Regions from separate parts of the Homo sapiens genome. Here region 1 is linked to region 2. The links are contacts of gene promoters, found by promoter capture Hi-C in human tissues and cell types (Jung and others, 2019). All regions are on one chromosome and are shown on one strand. The core of a region is centred on a gene start or on the middle of the fragment in contact, and the rest is flanking DNA. Distances in the headings are between cores, read along the strand shown.

The links. The method cuts DNA at HindIII sites, captures the fragments that hold promoters and counts their contacts. A contact is called where the count stands out against the background at its distance.
Region 1: a contact is called between a fragment that was not itself captured here and the fragment with the promoter of C2CD2 in region 2, in 1 of the 25 tissues and cell types used here (spleen).

Annotation. Positions count from the first base shown.
Region 1 is chr21:41,751,484-41,755,228 of GRCh38, reverse strand. The region is part of intron 2 of RIPK4 (receptor interacting serine/threonine kinase 4); the gene reads left to right. Among named protein-coding and RNA genes, the nearest start is that of MIR6814, 6.5 kb to the right of the region's middle. RefSeq lists an enhancer at 1,597-2,388. The HindIII fragment of the contact is 5,083 bases long and covers 1-3,745 here.
Region 2 is chr21:41,952,594-41,955,805 of GRCh38, reverse strand. It overlaps C2CD2 (C2 calcium dependent domain containing 2), which reads left to right and starts at 1,788. Exons shown (of 14, transcript NM_015500.2): 1 at 1,788-2,436. The coding sequence starts at 2,158. RefSeq lists a silencer at 1,496-2,165 and an enhancer at 2,042-2,816. The HindIII fragment of the contact is 14,094 bases long and covers 1-3,212 here.

The sequences.
Region 1 (3,745 bases), core at 1,244-3,743, 200 kb after region 2:
ATGACTTGGCTTGAACGGGCTCTCTGGTGGTTTCCCGCATCTGCTTATGTTCTGGGACCCCTGGGATTCCCGTTTCCTGTGATGGGCAGGGCTGGGCCTCACATGCGGACCCCCCATTCCCGCCAACATTTACGGGCTTGTTTCTAGGTAGCACAGGCTCTGGGGCCCTAATGACTAGTAAGCTCTGCCGTCCAACGTGCACTGAATACCGGAAAGGACATGCTAGAGGCTTCACCTGCGGGAGCTGCCCTCATCCTCAGAGCAGAGGTGCAGAGTGGACGGTGGCCTCTGGTTCTCGCTGAGTCTCTGCTTAGAGTGAGTAAATTAGCAGCCAGGATCGTCCAGCTGTAAGTCACGGAGCAGAGACCTTGATTTCCACCTGGCCTGCCACTGTGCTTGACATGAAAGAAACCAAATGACCACTGCACGTAGCAGTCACTTGGGGGCAGGGTGTGTGGCCCGCAGGCTGGGCCTAGAGGCGGCCCTGTGGGAGGGGGTGGGAGTGCTCCTGGGGCTGGGCCTTCACACAGGGTGGGGCTTTTCTGCCCTCAGGAGTCGGGGCAGGCAGCAGCAGAGCCTTTAGGTGAAGGAAACAGCCCAAGAGACGCAGAGAGCTCTGGGCCTTCCTGCAGGGGCAGCAGGCAGCAGGGCTTCCCTGTCTTTCAGGACAGCTGCAGGGGGCGGATGCTGCCTGGAACTGCTTTCTCAGGGAGGCTGCTGTCGAAGGCACGCTGGGTGCTGGCCAGGAAGTGACAGGACATCTCTGTGTGGTGCCCCTGGGACATCTTAGGGCCCTGTGTACCCTGACAGGCCGCAGGAAAGATTGCTTTTGTGTGGCGTCCTTCTTAATCAGGCATGTTAGTCACCATCAAGAAGCCCAAAAACAAACCGAAAAATACCTTTACGTGACATACTTATTTTTTCTGTGAAATAGCTACTGGTGTGCGTAGAGTGCAGCAGGGAGTGTGTGTCGGGGTTCTGAGAGTCAGCGCCTTTGTTCCTGAAGACGAAGTGTGGAAGCTTTGCATGGACTGACCACTGGGCTTCTGGGCAGTCCTCAGTAGACAGTTATTCAATGCAGGAAAACTGTAATCCAGAATCCTGCAATTAGATCCTAAGTTGCCATTCCAGTGCTGCCATTCGCCTCTGAGATGGGCTCCCTCAGTGCTCAGGGCTCGATTCAAACTGGAAATATCACAGCAACTGTCTACTTCATGAAGCAGTTAAATGTAAATAGTATACAAAGTAATAGTATCAAATTAATGCTTGATATTATTCAACATTACATATACTAAATACCAATATTAAGATACTAGTTGGAATCAATTTCAACTTAAAAATGAAATAACTTGGTTTAAAATCTCAGGCTGCATTTATATGTCCAGTTAGCCCAAAACAGACGCTTTTCAAAGGGTCACACGCGGGTCACGTTCTGCTGTGTCTTTCTTTTAGAGGCAGCAAAACCCCGGCAGGCTGCTTTCTTAGTCTTGACAGCTGGACCTTGAAGTTGAAGGGCCATGTGCTTGGGGGCAGCTGTGAGCCCTCAGCTCTTGGAGATGCAGAGTCGGGTGCTGATGAGAGTGTTTGTAACTCTTGAAGCATTTGCTGGTCAGAGTGGATGCCACAGTAGCTCGCTGTTGAGGACACGGGGTGAGGGGCAGCTTGGGTGGGAAGATGAGGAAAGGCGGAGGGGAAATGCAGCCGGCCAGGAGTCCGAGACATGGAGGGAGGAGAACATAGAGGGTCAGTGACCCTCCTAGAATTCTCAATTCCGAGCTTGCATTTTGTTGCCAGAGGTTTTACAGAGAATTTCTGCTCGTTTTCTTTTCACCAAGTATAGTTTGGAGTGGCTGGCTCTATCTGACAAAGACAGGAGGAGAAAAGGCTGCAGGCCTGGGGAAGCACCAGGCTGAGATCTCTGCACCCCTGTCGTTTTTCTTTTCTTTTCTTTTCTTTCTTAATGATCTCAGATGTCATTTAATTTTCACAACAAAGCTACAGGATGGGTACTGCTATTGCCTCCTTTTATGAAAAAAGGAAACAGGCACAGAGAGGCTAATAGTCCAGGGCCACGGAGCTACTAACTTGTACAGGCAAGATTAGAACAGTGAGTCTGATCCTTAACTAACCGTGGGAGGGAGATATTTTTTTCCTACATTCAACCATACAGGGGGAGGAGGAATTGCCTAGAAAGTATGTGATGCTTTCTTTATTTTTATTATTATTTTTTATTTTACTTTTAGTTCCGGGATACATGTGCAGAATGTGCCAGTTTGTTACATAGGTTTATATGTGCCATGGTGGTTTGCTGCACCCATCCACCATCTAGGTTATCACCTAGGTTTTAAGACCCGCATGCATTAGGTGTTTGTCCTAATGCTCTCCCTTCCCTCTTCCCCTACGCACCGACAGGGCCCGGCGTGTGATGTTCCCCTCCCTCTGTCCATGTGTTCTCATTGTTCAGCCCATTTCTGAATTTGAAGGCTTTCAAGCCACTGATGACTGTTGAACTGAAACTTCCTGTGCTCTGGAGCTATTTGGAGAGTTAGGACCCGTTGTTGTGTCCCAGCGTCCAGCAGCCGCCGGGGTTTGCAGGGTCGGGTGATGGCGTTCCTCTGGGGAGCTGGCGCTTTCCCTGGAGTGCAGAGTGTGGCTCTCAAGGGCGGTGCAGGCCTGAAGGCCCTGGGAGAAATGGAAGTGGGAGGACATGAGAGCCGCTGGAGTCGAGGCCTTGTCCTGGTGCTCCTGGCTGCAGAGAAGGAGGGCCGGTCCCTGCTCGCAGGCCTTCCCCCCTACCTCCCTGCAGATGTGCTCAGGATCCCTGGAAGCCCGAGTCACAGGTCATAAATTCTCCCAGCTGTTTGGTGCTGATGACAGCAGCCCTATTGGCTCACCACATGGGCATGGCCAGCCCAGAATTAAGGCCTGACTCAGCCTCATTTCCTGTCACTCCATGGGTGTGTTTGAGAGGAGCTCAAGAGTTAATGAAAAGGGTTTTTAAAAAAATCCATATGCCTTGAAGGAAAGTTGAGAGCAGCACTCCCCCTGGATCAAGAGTCCCATTAATGCTGATGACTTGTGTCTTCATCCCACATACGGTTTTCAGCAGCTTCAAAGGGGACTGAGTTACACTGGAGAGGGTAGGACACTGGCAGGAAAGGGGATGCCCCCGAGAGAGGTCAGACCGGGGGTCTGTGAAGTCTCCCCAGTGAGCTCCAAGGTCACCTTTGCCCGAAGGAGACCTGAGACCTGCCTCCCCTGAATGCGGACGTTGAGGGCATTCCTGGAGGAGCTGGGTGGCCGGTGCTCCTTGGGGCCCGGGCGCTGCCAGCAGAGGTGTTTATCAGACCTTCACTCGAACACATGTGTTTGAAGCAGCCAGCCAGTGTCTGCTGATCACAAAACACTCCAGATGGACGGGGCTCTGAGGCGTGTGTTTTGTTTGCTTTAAAGTTTAAAGGGCTTCTGAAGGTGTGTTTCTGTGTTTCCCTTTAAAGGACTTGCAGCCACTTGCCCGCCAGCCTCCCCAGCTGGCAGGTTGCATAACCTGCTCCCCGACTTCTCTAGGAGCAGACCTGGTCTTCACATGTGTCTCTCTTTACCTGAACCCTCGAAGGCTTGTTTTTTTCCCTTTATGCCGGCTCAGCCGGCTCTCAACCACCATGGCAAACATGATGCTTTACAGAAGGTGGATTCTAATTCTTCTGCAGTTCTGTCCCGGATAACTCCTTCCTTACAGTACGAT
Region 2 (3,212 bases), core at 539-3,038:
TGGCTCGCAAGGGTCCATCCCCAGCTCACCTGGGCAATCCCCGTCTAATTTCACCTCCCTGACAGCGTCCTATCCTGTTCCCCACAAAGGCTCTCCGTCCAGCTGCTGTGCCATTCCTTCCTCTTTCCTGAAGAAAATCCGGGCCCACGGATTCAGGGCCAGAATCCCCTCTGATGGACCATCCACTGGCCCCGCAGCAGACTCCTGGCTAGGGAAGAGAAGGCCAAATGCTCAGTCTATCTAATTCCTTTCAAGGTCAAGTCCCCTTAATACAGCTGCAGAAAATAACAGGGGAATCACTTTTTTATGGTTTAGGCCTGTTTTAGGCCCCGGAGAATCTCAGGCTAGTATGTTTCTATGGCACTCCCTAAGGACCGCGTCCACTCTGCAAGAGGAGGGCACAGGGGCATGTCCCACACACCACACCACACACACACACACCATACCACATGCACCACACTGACACACCACCCACACACCACGCCACATGCACCGCACTCACACATTACACATACACACACTCCACATCCATGTACCACACATACACACACCACCGTGTTCACCACACACACAAACCACACCACATGCAACGCACTTACACAATACATATACACACAGCACCACACCACACCCATGTGCCACACACACACGCTCACATCACCCTGTGCACCACACACACACGCACCACACTGACACACCACATACATACACCACACCACATCACACATACACACCACACACACCACATGCACCACACACACACACCACATGCTGTGCACTTACACATCACACGTACACACACCCATGCACCACACCGACACCACACACGCACCACACCACATGCACCACGCTTACACATCACACACACACACCACACACACACACCACACACACTGCACTTATACATCACACATACACACCCATGCACCACCATACACACTCGCACCATCCTGTGCACCACACACCACACACATACACCACATGCTGTGCACTTACACATCACACGTACACACACCCATGCACCACACCGACACACCACACACGCACCACACCACATGCACCACGCTTACACATCACACACACCACATGCACCACACTGGCACGCAACACACATACCACACCACATGCACCACGCTTACACACACACCACACCCATGCACCACACATACACACTCACACCATCCTGTGCACCACACACCACACCCACAACACATCACACCACATGCGCCACACACATCACACCACATGCACCCCCGCCCCACCCGCACACTGAATGAATGACACAGCCACACAGAAGGCAGGGCCTGGGCCTGGTGCTGAGCCCCTCCTTGCCTCTGAGAAGCACGCCCCCTAAGGCAGGCCCAGCCCCTGGCTCCAGGGGCAGCCACGGATTTCCAGGGACTTTCCGAGGACTGAGCCTGGATCCTGTCTCGCTGGCGAGCAAATGGCAGTCCTCGAAATCACCCTGACTGCGCGCTGTGCACACGCACACTCACACATGTGCACACACACGCACTTGTGCAAGCGCGCACACGAGCCAAGCCAAGCAGCCGCACAGCAGCCGCCGGGGTTGGGCTGATGAATCCGGAGGCCCGGGTCACCTCGCGGCCCGCGGGCAGGCGCCGGAGGGGCGGGCGACGCGCGCACGTGGCGGGGCCGGGAAGGCCGGGCCTTTAGGGGGGCGGGGGCACGCCGCGTTGGGAGCAGGGGGGAGGACTGCGGCCCCCGCAGGCCCGGCCGCGCCCCCTCCCTCGGGCACCGCCCCCGCCCCGCCCCGCCCCGCGGCCAGAGCCTCCTCCGGCCACCGCTGGGCCGCGGGCGGGACGCCCGGGGCGGCGCGCGCAGGAGGAAGCGCGGCCCGCAGCGGCCCAGGAACTTCCCAGACGCCGAGTCGGGAGCGCGGGCCGCGGGGTCCGCTCGCGCCCCTGTTCCGCAGGTGTGCGGGGCTTGCGCCCAGCCCGGGCCGCGGCCGCCGCGCGTTTCCTCCCCGCTTGCCCGCCCAGAGGCCCCCGGCCACGCTCCTCGCCGGGCTCCGACCCCGCCGCGCCCCCTCCACGCCCCCAGCGCGCTGTGGCCGCAGCCAGCGCGTGTCCTGAGTCCGCCGTTCCGGCCCGGGGCTGCCGGGGAAGTTGGGGCGAGGCGGGCCGGGGATGCGCCATGGCCATGGCCCGGCTGGGCTCGTGGCTCGGGGAGGCGCAGTGGCTCGCGCTGGTGTCGCTCTTCGTCGCGGCCCTGGCCACGGTAGGCCTGTACCTGGCGCAGTGGGCGCTGGCCAGGGCGCGACCCCAGCCCCAGCGGCGGGCGGTGGAGCCTGGAGAGGGGCCGCGCCCGGGGTCCGACGCGCTGCTCTCCTGGATCCTGACGCTGGGCAGCTGGAGGAGCCAGTGGCAGGCGGCCTGGGTGACCGCCCTGAACGAGGAGGCCGAGAGGAAAGGGGTGAGTTTCCGGGACTGCGGGCCGGGGGGCGGCAGATGCCGGGGCGGGCGGTCCGGGCCGAGGTCTTTCCTGGAGGCGTCGCTGCAGCCCCTGACCCAGGCTAAGGGAGTCCTCCCCCCAGCGCAGACCATCCTCGAGAGTTAGGAGAGAGACGGGGGAGCGAGGCCCCTTGACGGAGAGACAAGACAAAGTGATTGATTTTATTCTCCAAACGGCAGGTGCTCCAGGCCCTGGGCTCCGCGAGGGACAGGCTGGCAGTTGGAGGGACCGTCAGAAGTGCTCATCCGCGCCAGCCAGTACCTGCCTTGCCTGGAGTCCCGGGGCGAATTCCCGTGCCCGATCGGACACTTACTGAGCTTGCACATGATACATGAATAGCTGTGACCCCAATGTGCTTCCGCCTCTCATAGAGCTGAATTTCACCAAGAATTTATCTCCAAAGACTTGCATTTCTTGGCATATAAAAATAGTGACCGTTTGCTGAGGGCCAGCCGCTGGGCAGACATCCTACCGAGGCTTTCGGTGCGTCTGCCATCTCTGAATCCTCACAACTCCCGGGACAGGGGTGTTATCACTGTTTTACAGATGAGGAAACCAAGGCCCGGAGAGGGCAAGCAGCCTGCCCAGTGCCACACAGCTCGTGGGCGGCAGAGCTGGCATGTGAATCCAGCTGCCCTGGCCTGCAAGCTAAGGGCCTCGTGTCTTACCTCTGCTGCCTCACAGTCCTGTGGGTGTTTCTGTAGTCGCTGATTACTCGTTGACTTATTTTTGCTTTT